2 separate regions of the Homo sapiens genome follow, and region 2 is linked to region 1. The links are contacts of gene promoters, found by promoter capture Hi-C in human tissues and cell types (Jung and others, 2019). All regions are on one chromosome and are shown on one strand. The core of a region is centred on a gene start or on the middle of the fragment in contact, and the rest is flanking DNA. Distances in the headings are between cores, read along the strand shown. Region 1 holds the start of FAM110B (family with sequence similarity 110 member B). Region 2 overlaps LOC105375856 (a long non-coding RNA gene).

The links. Contacts are between HindIII fragments. The study calls those that stand out against the background at their distance.
Region 2: a contact is called between a fragment that was not itself captured here and the fragment with the promoter of FAM110B in region 1, in 1 of the 25 tissues and cell types used here (bladder).

What each region holds. Positions count from the first base shown.
Region 1 is chr8:57,991,618-57,996,733 of GRCh38, forward strand. It overlaps FAM110B (family with sequence similarity 110 member B), which reads left to right and starts at 2,906. Exons shown (of 4, transcript NM_001377989.1): 1 at 2,906-3,189. RefSeq lists silencers at 3,233-3,282, 3,303-3,352 and an enhancer at 3,357-3,857. The HindIII fragment of the contact is 16,250 bases long and covers 1-5,116 here.
Region 2 is chr8:57,943,429-57,948,544 of GRCh38, forward strand. All of the region lies in intron 2 of LOC105375856 (a long non-coding RNA gene), which reads left to right. Among named protein-coding and RNA genes, the nearest start is that of LINC01602, 32 kb to the right of the region's middle. The HindIII fragment of the contact is 3,076 bases long and covers 1,324-4,399 here.

The sequences.
Region 1 (5,116 bases), core at 1,656-4,155:
GAGCGGGGACTGGATTCCAGAACTCTTTATTTTTTTACTTTTCCTCTGAAGCTGCTTTGGTTGTTTTGTTTTCAGAGATGCTCTCCTTTTGTGAGGCTTGCATCTGTTTATAATATGTTATTATTCAGCTTACGGGCTTTTATACATTTAAAGTTTCCCTAGTTGTTGACACAACTTAGGTACGTACCCATCTGGAGAAAGACTAGTGAAAACTCTGAGCTCATGTCTTTTCAAGCTCACATTTTCCCGTAAGAAACCATTTTGGCAGTCAGAGGATTAGAGCTAATAACTGCATGTCCCTAGGCTCCCTGCTTGCTAGGAATAGTCCCACTGTCCAGAGTCACCTGTGAATAATGGTTAAATTACATTCTGATTCGTGTATGGATGCTTGTTTGGGTACTAGTCAAATATTGTTACATACTTTTAGAGACAGAAACCTCTGTGAAACAAAAGAATTCCAAGCCTAGGATAATGGCCCACTTCTGAAGAATAAACAACACAATAAAATTCTAGTACAAACAACTAATTTCAACATTCTCTGAAAATCTGTAGCAGTCCTTAACATTTTCAGTCCCCAAAACAAGAAAACTATGTCCTAAATCAGCAAACATTAGGGATTATGAGAGCAGTTTTATTGGCATAATTGATAAGACAATATTTACTGAAATATTCCAGCATAGATGTTTTACTGTGTTCTCTCTGTCTCTTTAACCACATCTTTTATTGGTTTTTGGTTTTGGTGATGACAATTTGGGGCTATTAAATCTACACTGGGCAATAGTAAAACCCTAAATGAGAACCTTAATAATAAGAGTTAGGGGTCCTACTAAGTGAACTCCTTGGCATATACTTTATTATCAAGAAGTAGTTTAGGCAATAGAAAAGCTAAAACTTGGTCGGCGCAGTGGCTCACGTCTGTAATCCCAGAACTTTGGGCGCCTGAGGCAGGTGGATCACCTGAGGTCACGAGTTCCAGGCTAGCCTGGCCAACATGGCAAAATCCCGTCTCTACTAAAAATACAAAAATTAGCTGGGCGTGGTGGCCCGTGCCTATAATCTTAGCTACTCGGGAGGCTGAGGCAGGAGAATTGCTGAACCCAGGAGGTGGAGGTTGCAGTGAGTGGAGATCATGCCACTGCACTCCAGCCTGGGTGACAGAGTGAGACTCTGTCATCAAAAAAAAAAAAAAAAAAAAAAAGAAAGAAAGCTAAAACTCATTGGTTACATTCCTGATTTTCAAAGCATCGATCATAGGGGAATCTTTTATGATTTTATAAGTGAGTCTTCTGGAAAGAAACTTAACTCAAAATGGCATAAGCAAGAAAGACAATTTATTGGTGCATTACTTCAGAAGTTCAGGATTTGACTGGTTTTAGAGGTGACTGTCTTCGGATGGCCATTGATGTCATCAGGGCACTTTTCTGTCTCCATTGCTCAGTTTGGCTTTTTTTCTGGTTTTGTTTTATTCTCCAGTAAGTTGACTCCAGCTGCTGCACGCATATATGATATGGTCCCAGGAGCTGCCCTGTCAGTCAGGGAAAGGACCCTCCTCCTTTGTTCTCAGACGATATTCTAATTGGCTGGCCTGGGTCATATCCCTCACAATGTCAGGAAGCTCTGTGGGCTAGTCACACCCAATGGGAGGGGGAAATTCCTAAAAGGAAGGGATTGGGGCAAAGAAGTGGGGAAAAAAAGTATACTTGAGAGGGAGAGAAGTTGGTTCCATTTGCTATGGGAATGATGAAAAATAGTTTATTTCTATTGTTATATGACTTTTGGAGTTAATGGAGACCACAACGTAATCTGTGATAACAAGGAATGTATTAGTATGCCAAAGGAAAGTTCCATTTAAATCCCAGTATCATGTCACTTTCTTAAAATGGTAATCTTTAAATAGAAAAAAAATATATTATTATAAAGTCTGAGTTTTATTTAGTTGGCAACTTCTTAACTATTATGAAACAATAGATTCATTGAATTGAAGCACAATTCAAATATAAACGATCTTTCTGAGAAAATGAGATGAGTGAAATCGTATTGTTAATGTACCAGAGATTAAAAAGAAATCCTTGCTCAATATTTTCTAGAAGAAACAATTATTTTGTGAGTCCATATCCCATTCAAATTCATTTTGATAAAGATGGATTTTATCTTTTAGACTTCCCAATAGCAAAATTAAATTACAATGTGTTTAGTCTTCCTAAAACAAATCCTCTCCTGAAACAACCAAGTTATTAAGCAAATCTAAGCAGAAAGTATTCTCAAATACTATATTAGGCGATTAATAATGACGCACCCCAAAGCATTTCATTTTAAAACATCAGCTGGCCCACATTTCAGAGGTAGTACATCATGCTTGATATTTTTCGTTATTTACTATTTTCTCCAAACATTTTTTTGAAGTCTTAAAAATGCCTTCAGAAATTAAGCTAGGACGCTCCATCTGAGTATATGAAAGTTAGTAAACAGAAAATGTCAAGCACCAAGACGTTTGGATGGCTGGACTACCAGGTGGGGTTATCTCATTCAGGGCACAGGCTCTACGTCTCCAGTGCTGAGCGATCTGCACTGGGGTGGCAGTCCGAGATCCAGCGGTATCACCGGGTGGGAGCAGGGTGGGGGTGCTTGCGTGCGGACATAGGTGGGAGTGGGGGATAGGGAGGAAATGGAGGCGCCGACCGAGTGGAATGGGGGGTGGGTCAGGGATGGGGTGGGATGGGCATCAGTAGCGGGGTGGAGATGTTGAGAGAGAGGCAGGGCTTGGAGTGGAGGTGCGAGAAGGGTGGGGACCCGGAAGGTGGGGTGGGGGCGGGATGGAGGCGGGGCGGGGTGTACGAGGGGCGTGTACACTGGCTCAGGGACACGCGCTCTCGGCCACAGCAACTGGCTCCAAGTTCCCTCCCTCACTCTCCGGCGAAGCCTGCCTGAGCCCTCCCACTCGGTGCAGACCGAACCATCGCGGCCGCCGCCAGCCGGGCCCTTCGCGGCCGCGCGTCCTGGGCCCGTTCCGCCAGCCCCGTCTGCTCTCTACCCGCGGCCCCGCGGCGGCGACCGTGAACACTCGGCGGCCCCTACAGCCCGCTCTCGGCCCTTCGTCCCTCGCGGGCCCCGACTCTCCCTCCTTGCAGTCCCCCGGAGCCTGGCTCCCGGCTCGGGCCGCACCGCCAGGGACTGGGGTGAGCGGCCCAGGTAAGACTGGGCCGTGGGGGCCGGGAGAGAGACTGCTGGGCGGGGGTTGGGATTCGGGTTCAGTGGTCGCGCCGCGCCCCGACTGCGGACAATGCGGGAGCTGCGCGCGGCCAGGCGGCGCGGAGCTAAGCCGGCTCTGCGCCTGCAGCTTCCCCGCCCGGCCCGGGTCTCCGTTGAGCCCGGCCTCACTGGCCCAGGCGGACCCCGTCCGGCTTTCTGGGCTGCCGGGGGAGGCGCAGCGCCGCTGCCTGCCCCGCGCCCCCTCTGCGCTCGGCTTGGCTGCACGTCCCGGGCTCGGCTAGGAGGCTGGGCACGGGGCCGGGGCTGGAGCCGGGGTTGGAGCCAGGGCGGGGGGAAGCTGGCCGCGCTGCGGAGCGGAGGTGGGCTCCGAAAGCGCGCCGCCGGTTGCTGCTGGAGGAGTGGGACTACGAAGGATGGGGACTCCGCTCGGCCACCGCTCCTGAATGGTCTCTAATCTCGGTGTTAAATACTTTATGAGAGTATCAATACCACCTAATCCTTTGCTGAGAATTACTGCTAGAAATGTAGATTCTGAGGTTCCGAAAGTTTGTTTTTGGTTACCCCCTCCAGCTCCTCCCGTGGCCTCAATTGTCTCTATTTTCTTTGAAAGCATACAGATTTGAAATAGAATTAAATTCTCCTTGGCTCACTCGTGTCTCCATCACCCAGCGGAGCTCATAACTTGGCAACAAAGCCCATACAGGCTGTGGGAAGCCGCGATGCCTGCTGCCCAGCCTGGTGCCCTCCTATTGTTTAGAGCTGGAGCTGTACAGTGTAAATGGCAGTGACAGGTCTCCCTTAAGCTGGCTCGTGGGGAAGGAAGGGAGATAACTTTGCAGTGTGCTTAAATTACTCTGGAAAGTGGAAAGAAAACACCTGGTGCTCAGCTTTTTAACCCTTTCAAGTTGTTATTCAGATTTATTGACACACACACACAGAAAAGTGCAGGCTTTCTTTCCTGCCTAAAAAATAGGCAACCTCTGTGTTCTTCCTCACAGCCAACTTATGTCCTCTGCAAAATCTGGCACACATCTGTGACAACATTGCACTTCTGGCGTAACTGGTCTATTTCTCAAAAGGGAATATGATAGTAGAATAAGCATTTTTGCAGTATGGATAGTAGGACTTCCATTTTCTTCGTTTCCTTTGTTGGTGAAGAAGGTATTTATTATTTTCCCCCCAGTTTACACGTAGTGATTTCTGGGAAGATACTTGTATTAATTTCTTGTACTCATTTTTGTGACATCACAACCCCTGGTCATTCAGGTAAGCTATTTATTAAGCATAGTTATTCTAGAATAAAGGTGAGTTAATGGTAAACTAGAATCCTTCACTGATAACATCCCATTGGTTTACCCTACGGTATTTAATCTGTAGTATTACTATAGATTGTACATGTAAAGTCACTAATTGAACAGAGAGGTGGTTGGTGCCTTGTTAGCCTGACATAAAGTGCTTAGAACAGTGCCTTGCATATAGTTCTAGGTGTCAGCTAATATTACTTTTAATTTTTCTTATCAAGCTATGTGTTATTTTCTGTTTGGAAAATGGTCGTTTTGATTTTTAAAATTCTGATCTGTTAGGTCATGATCTATTTTAAGTCTGTGGTTTTAATTTTAGATCAGGGCTGAGGTTGGGTTGTTATTATGCCTATGACTGACAGGCTTCTCTGCGTATCCTTATGCATGGTGAGGGTTGATTTAATTCATCTTATATATTGGATCTCTAAGGGCAAGACATCAGTCTTGAACCCAGTCATGCCCTGGTGCCTTTCATAAGGAGACCTGGTTGTCTTTAAGAGCCTAATTGTTTAAAGAGAGGCCTCCACATTAGGGAAGACCTGGGCTCTGAACCCCATTCCTTACCTCCCCTGCACTCCCTTGTTCTCTAGGTTTAGAATCCCACT
Region 2 (5,116 bases), core at 1,612-4,111, 48 kb before region 1:
TGATACTCTTTTCACTTAATGGTGCTGTAACAACTGTATCTCCATATACAAAAATAAAATAAAAAATGAATCTTGACCCATACCTCATACCAAATATAAAGACTAACTTGAAATTGATCATAGATGTAAACAAACTATTAAACCTCCAGTAGAAAAGCATGGGAAAATATATTCATAAAGTTGGGGTAGAAAAAGATTTTTTGATAGAACATAAAAAATATAAATCATAAAATAAAAAGCTGATAAATTGGGCTTAATCAAAATAAAAATTTCTGCTTTTTCAAACGTACTGTTAAGAAAATGAAAAAGCAAGCAGTAGTCCAGCAGAATGTAGCCACAATACGTAAATCTCACAAAAAAAAACCTGTATCCAGAATATATAAAGAACTCTTATAATTTAGTAATACAGAAACAGAGAATCTCAAAAAAAAGCGAAAAGTTTGAATGGGTTCATTACAAAAGAAGATATACTGATGTGCCAATAAGCACTTGAAAAAAGTGCTCAACGTCATTACTCATCAGGGAAATGTAAATTAAAGCTGCAGTGGGATATCACTATACATCTACTAGAATAGCTAAAATTAAAAAGATTGACAATACTGAGTGTTGACAAAGATGTGGAGTCATGAGGACTGTTATACCTTGCTGTTAGGACAATCAAAAGGTACGAACACTTTTTGGAAAACAGCTTGGCAGTTCTTTACAAAATTTGACATACACTCACCCTATGGCCCAGCAATTCAACTCCTAGGTATCCCCACTTCTTCACAAAAAATATATGTTCCAACAAAAATTTGAACTTGAATATTCAGCAGCTTATTCTTAATGGCCAAAAACAGACAAATGGATAAACAAATTATGGTATATTCATATGATGGAATGCTACACAACAATGAAAACAAATGAATTATTGATGCTTGCAAAAATGTGATGCAAGCTAAAATAATTATGGTGAGCAAAATAAGTCAGACACAAAAGGGTGTATGCTATATAATTCCATTTTGTGAAATTCTAGAAAAAGTGAAAACAATTTATAATAATGGGCAGCAGATCAGTGCAGTGCACACCTGAGGTTTGTGGTATTGGTGGGGATTGACAGAATATGGGCAAAAGTGAAACTTTGGGGGCAATGAAATATTCTAGACCTTAATAATGGTGGAGGTTACACGGTTGTATATACTTGTCAGAACACATCAAAATGCACACTCAAAGTGGGATATTTTATTGTGTCTAAATTCTATCTCAACAAAGTTGATTTCTTAAGAGTATACATAGAGAAATAGAAACATGAACCCAGAAGTACATAAATAAGGGTTGTTATGCCTAGATGATAGAACAATGAATAATTTTTTACTGTCTTTATTTTGCTCTTCTGTGTAATTTCATTTTTCCAAAATAATTATATGTAATGTTAGTAAAATAATTCCGAAGTAATTATATATAGTGTTAGTAAAAAAAAATTAAAATAAAAGTGACATTTCTTCGTTAAGAAAAAGTCATGTCAGGCCGGGCACGGTGGCTCACACCTATAATCCCCACACTTTGGGAGGCTGAGGCGGGTAGATCACCTGAGCTCAGGAGTTCGAGACCAGCCTGACCAACATGGAGAAACCATGTCTCTACTAAAAATACAAAATTAACTGGGCGTGGTGATGCATGCCTGTAATCCCAGCTACTCGGAAGGCTGAGGCAGGAGAATCACTTGAACCCAGGAGGCAGAGGTTGTGGTGAGCCCAGATCATGCCATTGCACTCCAGCCTGGGCAACAAGAATGAGACTCCATCTCTAAATAAATAAATAAATATAAAAAGTCATGTCAGGCTGGTGGTGGTGGCTCCTTCCTGTAGTCCCAGCACTTTAGGAGGCCCTTGGGCAGCTCACTTGAGGCCACGGGTTTGAGACCAGCCTGGCAAACACAGTGAAACCCTGTCTCTACTAAAAATACAAAAAGAAGTTGAGTGTGGTGGTGGGCACTTGTAATCCCAGCTACTTGGGAGGCTGAGGCAGCAGCAGCACTTGAACTCAGGAGGTGAAGTTTGCAATGAGGTGAGATCACACTACTGCACTCCAGCCTGGGTGACAGAGTGAGACTCCATCTCAAAAAAAAAAAAAGAAAACAAACGTCATGTCATTTTCATAATTTTCCCGTTTTCTCATGGGTTCAAGGACAGGCTTATTTACCTCTTAATCACCTACCAAACCCAGTACCCCCAATAGTATTTGGTGAATTGAATAGAAATGTTACATTTGCTCTGGTTATTATTCCCACGTAGACAGCCTAAACTGCTTTCCCTTAATAATAATTTAGGTCTCAATTTCATTCAGTTCTGCTCTGATTTTAGTTATTTTTTTTCTTCTGCTAGCTTTCAGGTGAGTTTGTTCTTGTTTTTCTAGTTCCTCTAGCTATGATATTAGATCATTAATTTGAGATCTTTCTAACTTTTTGAGGTAGACATTTAATGCTCTAAACTTTGCTCTTAACACTGCTTTTGGGGCATCCCAGAGACTTCGGTATGTTGTGTCTCTGGATTTATTTCAAATAATTTTTTATTTCTCCCTTAATTTCATTGTTTATCCAAAAGACATTTAGAAGCAAGTTAATTTCCATGTAACTGTGTGGTTTTGAGAAATCTTCTGGTATTGACATCTACTTTTATTCCACGTGGTCTGCAATTATGGGTGGTATGATTTTGATTTTTATGAATGTATTGGGACTCCTTATGGCTGAGCATGTGGTTGATCTTGGAGTATGTTTTATGTGCAGTTGAGAAGAATGTGTATTCTGTGGTTGATGGGTAGAGTATTCTGCAGATGTCTATTAGGTCCAATTGGTCAAGAATTGAATTTATGTCCAGAATTTCTTTGATAGTTTTCTGCCTCTATGATCTGTATAATGCTGTCAGTGGGGTATTGAAGTCCTCTACTATTATTGTGTGGCTGTCTAGTCTTTTTTAGGCCTGAAAGTAGTTGTTTTATGAATCTGAGTGCTCCAATGTTGGGTGTGTATGTATTTAGAATAGTTTAGTCTTCTTGTTGAATTGAGCCCTTTGTCATTATGTAATGCCCTTCTTTGTCCTTTTTTACTATTGTTGGCTTAAAGTCTGTTTTATGTGATGTAAGAATAGTGAACCCTACTCTTTTTAGCTCCATTTGCATGATAGATCTTTCTCCAACCCTTTACTTCGAGCCTATGGGTGTAAGATGCGTCTCTTGAGGATAACAAACAGATCTGTGCCTTTTGTTGGCATTTAGACCATTTACAGTCCAGGTTAACATTGATATGGGAGGTTTTGATTCCATGGTGAAGCTGTTGGCTGCTTGCTTTGTAGTTCCTATTGTGTGATTGCTTTACAGGCTCCAGGGGCTATGTACTTATGTGCATTTTTATGGTAACAGGTATCGTTCTTTTGATTCCATGTTTTGAATTCCCTTAAGCATCTCTTGTAAGGCTGGTCTGGTTGTAATAAAGTCTCTTAGTGATTTCTTGTCAGGAAAATATTTTATTTATCTACTTATGAAGCTTAGTTTGGCATGATATAAAATTCTTGGTTGAAATTTATTTTCTTTTAGATTGCTGAAAATAGGCGCCCAAGGTCTCCTGGCTTGTACGGTTTCTGCTGAAAAGTACTCTGTTAGCCTCCTAGAGTTCCCTTTGAACATAATCTGACCTTTTTTTCTAGCTACCTTTAAGGGTTTTTTTGTTTTTTTGTTTGTGTGTGTGTGTGTATGTGTGTGTTGACCTTGGACAGTCTGGTGACTACATACCTTGGTGATGTTCATTTGTATAGTATCTCATGGGTGTTTTCTGGTTTCTTGTATCTGGATGTCTACCTCTAGCAAGATTCGGGAAATTTTCTTGAATTATTCCCACAAATATGTTTCCAGGTTGTTTACATTTTCTCTTTCTCTCCAAGAATGCCAATAATTCATAGGTTTGATTGCTTTACATAATCCCATATTTCTCAAGACTTTATTTTAAAAAATTATTATTATTATTATTATTATTTGTTGTTGTTGTTGGACTGGGTTAGTTTGAAGGTCTGGTGTTCCATCTCTGAAACACTTTCTTTTGCTTATTCTAGTCTACTGATAAAGCTTTCAATTGTATTCTGAAATTCCTTAAGTGAGTTTTTCAATTCCAGAAGCCCTGACTGATTTCTTCCTTCACTTCCTGAATTGCTTTAGAAGTTTCTTTGTGTTGATTTCAACCTTGTCTTGGAGCTTGTTGAGCTTCCTTGCAATCCGTGCTTTGAATTCTTTATCTGTCACTTCTGAGTTTCCATTTTGTTTAGAGACCATTGCTGGAGAACTAGTGTGATCCTTCAATGGTGTCACTACATTCATATTTTTTATGGTGCCAGAATTCTTGTGCTGGTTCTTTTTTATCTGGAGATGCTGGCAGTTCGAGTTTTTGTAATTATTTTTCTACTGGTAGGATTTTTTCTCCTTATTTCTTTCCTTATTATATTATTGGGATTTTTTCTTTCCCTTTCCTTTTCCCCACCTCCCTAGGGGGTGGAACTGTAAAGAATGTTGGGTAGGGTCTTTTGGCTTTGCTTCTCTAGCCCTATGCACTTCTTTTGGCATGTTTCATACTGGGATGTGTGATTTGGCCTACAGGCTAGTAGATGACACTTACGGGTAGGAGTTGGCTGTGGCCAATGTCGCTGGGTGTATACTTGATCCTTGTTTACTGGGAGAAGCTTTCTGTTGCCTTGGGCAATGGGCTGATCCAAGGAATGCACAGCAGTCTGAGCTCCCTGCTCAGCTCCAGAGGGAGAGGGAGGGAAGACGAGTGAGGAGGCCCACCTACAGGTCCCCCAGTGGCAGGTACAAGCATGAGTATGGAAGAAGAATCCAGTGGGAAGCCACCTAGCACCCAGAAGTATACCTAAGCCTGGAAATGGAAAACCTCCATGGCCCCAAAGAGGCAGGGGTGGAGGTGGGGCCTAAACTCCTAATCCAGGAGAGTGAATGTTCCAGATGCCTGAAGATCTGCCTGGCCATGGGGAGGAAAAGGCCCTGCTGTATCACAGTGTCTGAACAAGAAAGGTGGGGTGGCTCAGGCTGCTGAACCAGGCAAGTGGGTGTTCCAAATGTCTGGGGATCTGCCTGG